Regions from separate parts of the Homo sapiens genome. Here region 2 is linked to region 1. The links are contacts of gene promoters, found by promoter capture Hi-C in human tissues and cell types (Jung and others, 2019). All regions are on one chromosome and are shown on one strand. Each heading gives the region's core, a stretch centred on a gene start or on the middle of the fragment in contact. The rest is flanking DNA. Distances are from core to core; before and after follow the strand shown. Region 1 holds the start of TMEM177 (transmembrane protein 177). Region 2 overlaps EPB41L5 (erythrocyte membrane protein band 4.1 like 5).

The links. Contacts are between HindIII fragments. The study calls those that stand out against the background at their distance.
Region 2: a contact is called between a fragment that was not itself captured here and the fragment with the promoter of TMEM177 in region 1, in 2 of the 25 tissues and cell types used here (mesenchymal stem cells and stomach).

What each region holds. Positions count from the first base shown.
Region 1 is chr2:119,677,097-119,682,182 of GRCh38, forward strand. It overlaps TMEM177 (transmembrane protein 177), which reads left to right and starts at 2,105. Exons shown (of 2, transcript NM_030577.3): 1 at 2,105-2,180; 2 at 3,736-5,022. The coding sequence starts at 3,758. The coding sequence ends at 4,693. RefSeq lists a silencer at 1,952-2,181. The HindIII fragment of the contact is 8,254 bases long and covers 1-5,086 here.
Region 2 is chr2:120,033,490-120,038,575 of GRCh38, forward strand. The region is part of intron 2 of EPB41L5 (erythrocyte membrane protein band 4.1 like 5); the gene reads left to right. Among named protein-coding and RNA genes, the nearest start is that of EPB41L5, 23 kb to the left of the region's middle. The HindIII fragment of the contact is 6,408 bases long and covers 1-5,086 here.

The sequences.
Region 1 (5,086 bases), core at 855-3,354:
AAACACACACAAAAGTAGAGCATGGTATGATGAAGATCCCTGAACCTGTCATGCAGCTTCACAATAACTAACACTTTGTCAATGTTGTTTCATCTGTGCCCCTGTTTTTTTGTTGTTGTTGTTGTTTGGATTTGGTTTCGTTGGAATATTTTGAATCAAATAGTAGACATTGTGTCATTTCACCTGTAAACACTTCAGTATGCATCTCTAGTAAGAATTTTTTGGTTTATATAAACTCCATGTCATCATCCCATCTGATGAAATAAGCAATAATTCATTAATATCATCTAATATTCAAATCCAAATTCAAATTTCTCCAAGATGCCTTTTGTTTGTTTGTTTGTTCCTTTGTTTGTTTGAGACAGAGTCTCACTTAGCCACCCAGGCTGGAGTGCAGTGGCACAATCTCGGCTTACTGCAACCACCATCTCCCAGGTTTTAGCGATTCTCCCGTCTCAGCCTCCTGAATAGCTAGGATTATAGGCGTGTGCCACCATGCCTGGCTAATTTTTGTATTTTAGTAGAGACGGAGTTTCACCATGTTGGCCAGGCTGGTCTTGAACTCCTGACCTCAGGTGATCTGCCCTCCTTGGCCTCCCAAAGTGCCAGGATTACAGGCGTAAGCCACCGCGCCCAGCCCAAGGTGTCTTTTTTACAGTTAGTTTATTTGGTTCAGGATCCCAATAAAAGTCACATATTGCATTTAACTGCAATGACTCTCAAGTCTCTTTTCTTTTGAGTCCCCCTCCTTCCCTGTTTATGCCATTGATTTGTTGGATAAACCACGTCATTTGCCCTGTAGAATGTCCCACATTCTGGCTTTGGCTGAGGTCACATTGCACTATTTACATACAAACAACTGAGCAGCCAAAATTGGGGGGGGGGGCTCAGAAACAGAACAGACTTTAATAATAATAGCTAATGGCTAGGCGGCACAAACCGTGAGGCACAGGTTACATATACACCAACTCATTTTATCACACAGCTAGTAAGGGGTGGAGCCCGGCTTTAACCCTAGGCAGTCTGTTTTCACCCTCTGTAAAGGATTGGGCATGGCTGTGTTCCAAGAAAACTTTATTTACAAAAGCAGGTGGAGAGCTGGATTTGGTGCACAGATTAGATGATCCCTCATCTACCTCACAGAGCAGCTGGAAAGGAGAAATGACAGATGGCACGCTGCTCTGTGGACTGTACAGTGTGAAGCACCTGGGAGGAGCTTGGGGGGCAGCGAACATGGTAATAAACATAAAGCTCAGAGCTCCCCGCCAAGGGTGAGCGCTTCCAGACGGAGAAGTACACGGGCCGGCCAGTCAGATGGGCATGGGTTCTGATGGGGGCCCTGCCATAGGCCGCCTGGTGACCCACGCGGGGCTGCCGTTCCTTCGGGGGTTCAACGGCATGATCAAAGACACCGGGATGTGTGTGTGTGTGTGTGTGTGTGTGTGTGATGATCAAAGACACCGGGGTGGGTGTGTGTGTGTGTGTGTGTCATGATCAAAGACACCAGGGTATGTGTGTGTGTGTGTGTGTGTGTGGCATGATCAAAGACACCGGGGTGTGTGTGTGTGTGTGTGTGGCATGATCAAAGACACCGGGGTGTGTGTGTGTGTGTGTGTGTGTGACGGAGTCTCGCTCTGTCGCCCAGGTTGGAGTGCAGTGGCGTATTCTCGGCTCACTGCAACCTCTGCCTCCCAGGTTCAAGCGATTCTCCTGCCTCAGCCTCCCCAGCAGCTGGGGACTACAGGCGTGCGCCACCACGCCCAGCTAATTTTTGTATTAATCAAAGACGCATTTCAACGCAGAGGAGGAAGTGCTAGCGGACCCACCCCAAGGTGCACAGTTAGAGAAGGAGCCTCTGCGGCGGCCGGAGCCCCCCACGGACATCCCCTTGAGGCCCCCCCAGCCACACCCCCAAGAGTCCCGCCCCCAGACCCGTCGAGCGAGCTCCCCTCCCTGAAATCCTCGCCCCGAGATCTCCGGCCGGCGAGCTCCGCCCCCTGAAGTCCCCATCCCAAGATCCGGGGCCGGCGAGCTCCGCCTCCCGAAGTCCCCGCCCCCAGATCCCCGGCCGGCGTGCTTTGCGGCCGCCCTGCCGCGCGCACATGTAGGCGTTCCGAGCGGCGGCGGAGGTGAGCGCACGGACGAGCGGGAGGGACCCTTCTCCGGCCTGATGCGACCCGGTAACGCGTTCAGACTGCGGAGTAGCCTAGGGGCCCAGAGTGGAAGCGTAGCGAGGACCCCTCTGCGGGGCTCCTGCAGCCCCTCCTCCCCCAGCCACCGGCGGGCTGCATGGTACTGTGTTCTAGGCCCACCCCGCAGCGCGATGGCCCTAGGGACGTTGGACTTTGGTCCAGACCTTTCCTTTCTTAGCCTCACTTTCCGCATTGGGAAAAAAAAAAAGCCCGAATGATAATGATTCTTATAGGAGTTCTTGATTAAGATAGGCCAAGCGGTACCCTGCGTTTTTGTTTGCGGCAACTCATTCGTTGCTCATTAAGCACTTTTCACGGACAGGAATACAGTAAGTTTCAATCAAAGTGAAATAATTGTGAATTTTTACTGACGTATTCACGGATGAAGTGATAGGATGCCCGGGGATGTTTCAAAATAAACCAGTTGGACGGAAGTGTGGTGGAAAGAGAAATCAAACAAGATTGGCCATGAGTTGATGGGATTGAAGTTGATGGATGTACTATTTTGTCTACTTTGGTATATGCTTGTAATTTGGCATAACAAGTTTTCTAAAACAAAAAGTTTGCTGTGGACACCTGACTATGCCTGTGTTAGCTTGCTAGAGCTGCCATGCCGAAGTACCGGAGACTGGGTGGCCCAACCAGCAGAAATTTGTCCTCTGGGAGTTATGGAGGCTGGAAGTTCAAGACCAGGGTGTTAACAGGGTTGGTGTCTTCTGAGACCTCCCTTCTTGGCTTGTAGGTGGTAGCCTTTTCCCTGGATCCTCACATGATCTTCCTGCTGTGCCTGTTTGCATCCTAATCTCTTCTTATAAGTACACCAGTCAAATTGGATTAGGATCCATACTGATGGCCTCATTTTATCTTAATTATCTCCTTAAAGACCCTGTCTCCAAATACAGCCACAGTCTGAGGTACTGGGGGTTAGGACTTAAATATATGAACTGGGGAGGAGGAGGAGACACAGTGCAGCCCATAACACTGTCACTTCACTAGCTTAGGATTTTGGCCATTTAAGTTTTCACAGCTTTGAAATAGGGTTAGCTGTAGTAATTAGGTCATGGGGTTGTGAGGGTTCAATCGGTAAGAGTGCTCAGAACTGAGTCTAGCATATAGTAAGCACTCAATAAATTGAACACGTTTTTCCTTATAAATTAGTAATCATAGGGCTTTACCATGGGATGAGTGGAATGAGGCAGTTGGAGTGCCGTGCCCAGCGATGGGAATAAAAGTCATTACAGCCATTATTATAAGGAATATCTGCTGCTGTGCCAGACACTAAATGTTTTATGTATGTTTATTCATGTGCTCATCACCGCCACCCTAGAGGTGGGCCATTACGACACACCTGTTTGGCACATGGGGAAATTGACGCACAGAGACGGAGCTGGGATTTGAACACAGGCACTCTGGCTCTAGAGCCCACACTCTTCACCACTATGCTGTGTTACTTTGGTTTAAAAAGGTGGTGTGGACCCTGGAGGATGTTCAGTCTGCAGGCTGACCCAGGGAAACTGGCTGACTTCTCTTTTTCTTGGCCCAGATTGTCCGCAGTGACTACACTCATGGCAGGTCCCCTGTGGCGGACCGCAGCATTTGTGCAGAGACACAGGACAGGCCTCTTGGTGGGTTCCTGTGCAGGCCTGTTTGGAGTTCCAATCTCGTACCACCTCTTCCCGGATCCCGTGGTCCAATGGCTCTACCAGTACTGGCCTCAGGGCCAGCCAGCTCCGCTCCCTCCACAGCTGCAGAGCCTCTTCCAAGAGGTGCTACAGGACATAGGTGTTCCTTCAGGCCATTGCTACAAGCCCTTCACCACCTTCACCTTCCAACCTGTGAGTGCAGGCTTCCCAAGACTCCCTGCTGGGGCTGTGGTGGGCATCCCTGCCAGTTTCTTGGGAGACCTAGTGATCAACACTAACCATCCCGTGGTCATACATGGGCATACAGTGGACTGGCGGAGCCCAGCAGGCGCCCGGCTGAGAGCTTCCCTGACCTTGTCCCGTGAAGCCCAGAAGTTCGCCTTGGCCAGGGAAGTGGTGTACCTGGAAAGCAGTACCACTGCCGTGCACGCCCTGCTGGCCCCAGCTTGCCTGGCAGGGACCTGGGCACTGGGCGTGGGTGCCAAGTACACCCTGGGGCTCCATGCAGGCCCCATGAATTTACGGGCTGCCTTCAGCTTGGTGGCAGCAGTGGCAGGCTTTGTGGCCTACGCCTTCTCCCAGGATTCTCTCACTCATGCCGTGGAGTCCTGGCTGGACCGCCGCACGGCCTCCCTCTCTGCAGCCTATGCCTGTGGTGGAGTGGAGTTCTATGAGAAGCTTCTGTCGGGCAACCTGGCCCTGCGCAGTCTCTTGGGCAAAGACGGGGAGAAGCTGTATACACCCAGCGGGAACATCGTCCCCAGACACTTGTTCCGAATCAAACATTTACCCTACACCACCCGCCGGGACTCTGTGCTGCAGATGTGGAGGGGGATGCTCAATCCGGGCCGCTCCTGATGGGCTCATCACAAGGACACTTCCAGCTTGTGCAGACACCACCCTGCCATTGAGTCTGGAGGGCCCTGTTGGAGCCTTTGGACCTATAGCTCACGGCCAGAAAAATCACTGGCTTTGGAATTAAATAGCTTAGATTGTACTATAACCACTACTTATGAACTCAGGGACTATGAGGGACTATTCAGGGGCTATGAATCTGAGCCTTTGTTTCTTGAACTGTAAAGTGGAGATGATGTAAACCGCCTTGCAAGATTGTAGAGTTGGGTAAGGTCATGAACATAAGGGCCTGGCACAAAGGGTGCACTGTAAATAAACAGACATCCCTCCTTCTTGGTCGTTTTTTTTTTTTTTTTGAGAGCATCTCACTCTGTTGCCCGGGATGGACTGCAGTGG
Region 2 (5,086 bases), core at 1,104-3,603, 360 kb after region 1:
CTGAGGTCAGGAGCTGGAGACCAGCCTAGCCAACGTGGTGAAACCCCATCTCTATTAAAAATACAAAATTAGCCGGGCGTAGTAGCAGGCACCTGTAATCCCAGCTACTTGGGAGGCTGAGGCAAGATAATTGCTTGAACCTGGGGAGGTGGAGGTTGCAGTGAGCTGAGACCACGCCACTGCACTCCAGCCCAGGCAACAAGAGCGAAACTCCATCTCAAAAAAAAAAAAAAAAAAAAAGTAATTATGGTTTTTGCAATAGTTTTTAATGGCGAAAACCGCAATTACTTTTGTACCAACCTAAAATAGATTGTGCATTGTTGCCCAGGTGTGATGGCTCACGCTTATAATCCCAGCACTTTGGGAGGCTGAGGTGGGAGGATTGCTTGAGCCCAGGAGTTTGAGACCAGTCTGGGTAACATTATGAGAACTCTGTCTCTACAGAAAAAGTAAAATACTAGCCAGCTATGATGGTGCACACCTGTGGTCCCAGCTACTTGGGAGGCCAAGGTGGGAGGATTGCTTGAGCCCAGGAGGTTGAGGCTGCAGTGAGCCAAGATCCCACCACTGCACTCCAGCCTGGACAACAGAGTTGTCCTGTCTGAAAAAATAAAATCATGTATCGTTTACTTCAGGAACCTATAAATGTCTTGTGTTCACTATTGGTTGTCTTAGAACTAGCATCTGTTAAGGAGGAGTCAATGTATAACCTTGAAAAGGTTTTTGTTCTGAGGACGCAGCTGTCTAGCTGGCAGAAGCCCATTCTTTCTCACCTTAGAACACAACTGTTGTATTTCAATAGTCTAGCAAATGATGCTTTGGCAGAATAAGGAGGAGAGTTATTTTTAAAGCAATGCTTCCCTTTTGTCTTGAAGCAAATATAGAATGTTGATGGAATATGAAATTGATTCTAGAGCTATGCCTTAGAATGAAAGTAATGGAAACATATAAGTTTGGTACCAGATAGATGAATTCAGCAGAAGACTTGTGTGGCTTTCTGCTGTAGTGTAGAAATATTTTGTAGTGTAGAATAAAAATACTTGTAGTGTAGTGATTGCCATTAGCAAATTTTAGCACAGTTAAATTTGTTAGCTGGGCTCAGTGTGACCACGCCTATAACCCAGCACTTTGGGAGGCTGAGGCAGTCAAGACCAGACTGGGCAACATGGCAAAACCCTGTAAAAACAAAACAAAACAAAACAAAAAAAAAACCACACACACGAAAATTAGCCAGGCATCATGGTGCACACCTGTAGTCCCAGCAACTTGGGAGACTGAGCCGAAAGGATTCCTTAAGACCTGGAGGTCAAGGCTGTGGTGAGCCATGCATGCCGCTGCACTGTAACCTGGGTAACAGAGCGAGACCCCATCTCAAAATCAGTCAGTCAGTCAAACTGTTAGCAGTACTTTGTTGTTGTTACAAGCATTGTTTAAAACCAGTAGTTTTCTTTTTCATTTCCAATAATGACTTTCTCCTCCTTTTCCATTGTGTTGCTAGAACAAATATGTTGAAATATTCAGTTGGTTTGTTTTATTATTTAAACGCACATACACAGTTGGGAATTTTGCATTTGTTGTAATTTCTGCCTGGGATTTGTTTTCTCTAGGTAATTACATAGTTATGTCACTCAGTCTTTTTTCAAATCTCCCTTATTAAATGGGCCCCATGTAAACACCATTTCCCATAGTTACCTTGTTCTGTATAACCTTTATCACTCGCTAGCATAATATTTTCTTCCCTTGCTAGGATATAAGATTCTTCTAAAAAAATTTTTTTTAAAAATTTTTTGTAGAGATAGGGTCTTGCTATGTTATCCAGGCCAGTCTCGGAACGCCTGGTCTTAAGTGATCCTCCTGCCTTGGCTTCCCAAAGTGCTGGGATTGTAGGCATGAGCCACCATGCCTGGCTGTTTTTTTCTTTAATTGAATATGAGCTTCTTGAAGGCAGGGGCTTACCTGTTTTGTTTTCCTGTTTAGTTGCTTAGAACAGTGCCTGGCACATAGTAAGCGCTCTATTAATGTTTGTTCAATAAACCAACTTCAGTGATAGAGTGCCTGTAGTTCCAGCTACTCAGGAGGCTGAGGTGGGAGGATTGCTTAAGGCCACGAGTTTGAGGCTGTAGTGCAGTCTTCACACCTGTGAATAGCCACTGAATTCTGGCCTGGGCAACATGGTGAGACCCCCATCTCTTAAAAAAAATTGTTGAATAAATCAAATTAGGAATAGTATTTGAAACAGATCTTTAATTTTAAAAGAAATTCATCCCTGAAGGAAGTTAAGATCACTCCCAATCATAAATTTTTAATGAGAATTCTTGCCCTGTTTGGGACAAGATAATGAAGTAATAAGGGCTTCTAGTGTCCTAAGATTAACCCATGAATGATCATAAAACTTAAGACAGAAAAATTAGTCCCAGGTAAGGAGTGTTGATACTGGAGTGTGTGTGTGGTAATGGTGGCTGCAGTCTGGTTTAGGGGGCTGCTCCTGTGGCTGTGGAAGGATAATTGAGGTAAAAGGCAGTTTGGATGGAGGTCTTACCCCCTGTTCCAAATTTGTCTTGATAATTAGTATCTCTTTTAAGGGGTGTGATAGCAATAACTCAGACAGTGGGTGGAAGTGTCTTCAAGAATAAATCATAATAGCACTGCCTAAAAAGTTTCTCACCTCTAAAAATCCTTATCCTTAAAATTCCCTTACCTAAATTTCCTACCCTTCCTCCACCAAACTCTTAGAGAGCAGTGAATTATTATTATAGAAAATGCCTCCTTCCCAATGCTACTTTCATCTGTGGACAAAGAATGAATTATTAACCTGAGGGAGTTGTTTGTATAATGGAAAGTGATTAACTGTGATTTTCTCTTGTTAGGGCTCTCCTCCCTAGAATTCTTCTATTCCCCCAGGGGTTTCTCAGTGCTAAATGTTGCTGATACAGACTAGAGTCAGGCCTTTCTCTTGTTACACATAATCTAGAGAAAGTAACTCATGTTCCCAAATAAATATGTCCAAAATAAGGAGACAAATGAGCGCAAGCACCTCAAAAGGCAAGTAAAAGATAACAAACTGTGTGTATGTGTGTGTTTTCTTGTTTTATGTTGTTAATATCTTTGTGTATATAGTAGAAGCAAAGGCAGATGGAATAAAAAGAAAAGTCTAATAAATTTTCTAAAAGATATTAACAACATGAAACAAGAACAAAAACTTACTTAATAGGACCAAAGGAAAATACTAGGTATAAGAAGTATAATCTATAGAACACATTTGATGGGATGAAATTAGGATCAGTTAAGGTGAAGGAGAAATTAGTGAGTTGGAAGATCATATTTAGAATTCTTTCCATAAGAGGAAAGAAAGGATATAATATGAAGCATAAAATAAAAATTAAGAAATAAATGAAATTCAAAAGTAGGAGTTCCTTTTTCCCCTAAGATCAGGAACAAGATAAAGGTATCTGCTGTTGCCACTTTTGTTCAACATAGTACTGGAACTTCTGTCCAGAGCAGTTCAGCAGAAAAAAGAAATGCATCCAAATGGGAAGGGAAGAAATAAAATTATCTCTATTTAAGATGACATGATCTTATATGTAGAAAACCAAAGATTTTGCAGGAAAAAAAAACCTTATGGTGCTAATAAGTTAGCAATGATCTGAAAACAAAATTAAGAAAACCATTTCATTTATAATAGCATCTAAGAGAATAAAATGCTTAGGAATAAATTTAACCAAGGAGGCAAAAGACTTGCAGTATAAAACACTGCTGAGAGGAATGAAAGAACATGTAAATAAGAAGGAAGATATCCCACGTTCAAGAATTTGGAGACTTAATCTTGTTAAGAAGACAGTACTACCCAAAGTGATCCATAGATTAAATGCAATTCCTATCAAAATCCAAACGATGTTATTTGCAGAAATAGAAAAACCCATTCTAAAATCCATATGGAATCTGAAGGGAGCCAAAACAATCTTGAAAAGAAGAAGAAAGTTAGAGGACTCACAGTTCCTGATTTATTTCAAAAGTTACTACGAAACTACAGAATCAAAAACTGTGGGGCTGCGTGTGATGGCTCACACCTGTAATTCCAGTGCTTTGGGTGGCTAAGGCAGGAGGATTGCTTGAGACCAGGAGTTCAAGACCAGGCTGAGCAACATAGCCAGACCCCATCTCTACAAAAGAAAAAAAAAAGCAGTGTGTTACTGGCAATACAGACAGACATTGACCAATGGAATAGAATAGAGAGACTAGAAACAAACCCTTGTAAATATGGTAAAATGATTTTTGACAAGGGTGCCAAAACCACTCAGTGGAGAAAAGACAGTCTTTTCAACAAATGGTGATGAGAAAACTGGATACCCACATGGAAAAGAAAGAAGTCAGACCTTTTCCTTATACCATATACAAAAATTAATGTAAAGATGGCTCAAAGACATAGAGACCTAAAACTATAAAATTCATAGAAGAAAACAGGGAAAAAATCTTCATGACATTAGATATGGCAGTGATTTTGTAGGATATGATAACAAAAGCACAGGCAGCACAACAAATAAGTTGGACTTCATCAAAGCTTTTGTGTATTAAAGGACACTGCCAAGAGAGTAAAAAGACAACCCACAGAATGTGAGAAAATGTTTGCGAACCAGATATATGATAAGAGATTAATATCCAGAATATATAAAGAACTCCTACAACTCAGCAACAACAACCAAAAGCCAATTCGAAAATAGGCAAAGAACTTACACATTTCTCCAAAGAACATATATAAATGGCTAATAAGCACATTAAAATATTTTCAGCATCACTAATCAGAATGGAAATTTGAATCAGAGCCACGATGAGAGAGACTGATTCATACCTATCAAGTGGCTGGTTTTAAAAAGTAAAAGAGAAAGTAACAAATGTTGGCAAGGATGTGGAAGAACTGGAATTGTTATACACTTTCAGAGGGAATGTAAAATAGTGTTGCTGCTGTAGAAAACAGTTTGACAGTTTCTCAAAAAGTTAAACATACGGCTGGGTGCAGTGGCTCACTCCTGTAATCCCAGCACTTTGGGATGCTTGAGGCCAAGAGTTCAAGACCAGCCTGGCCAACATG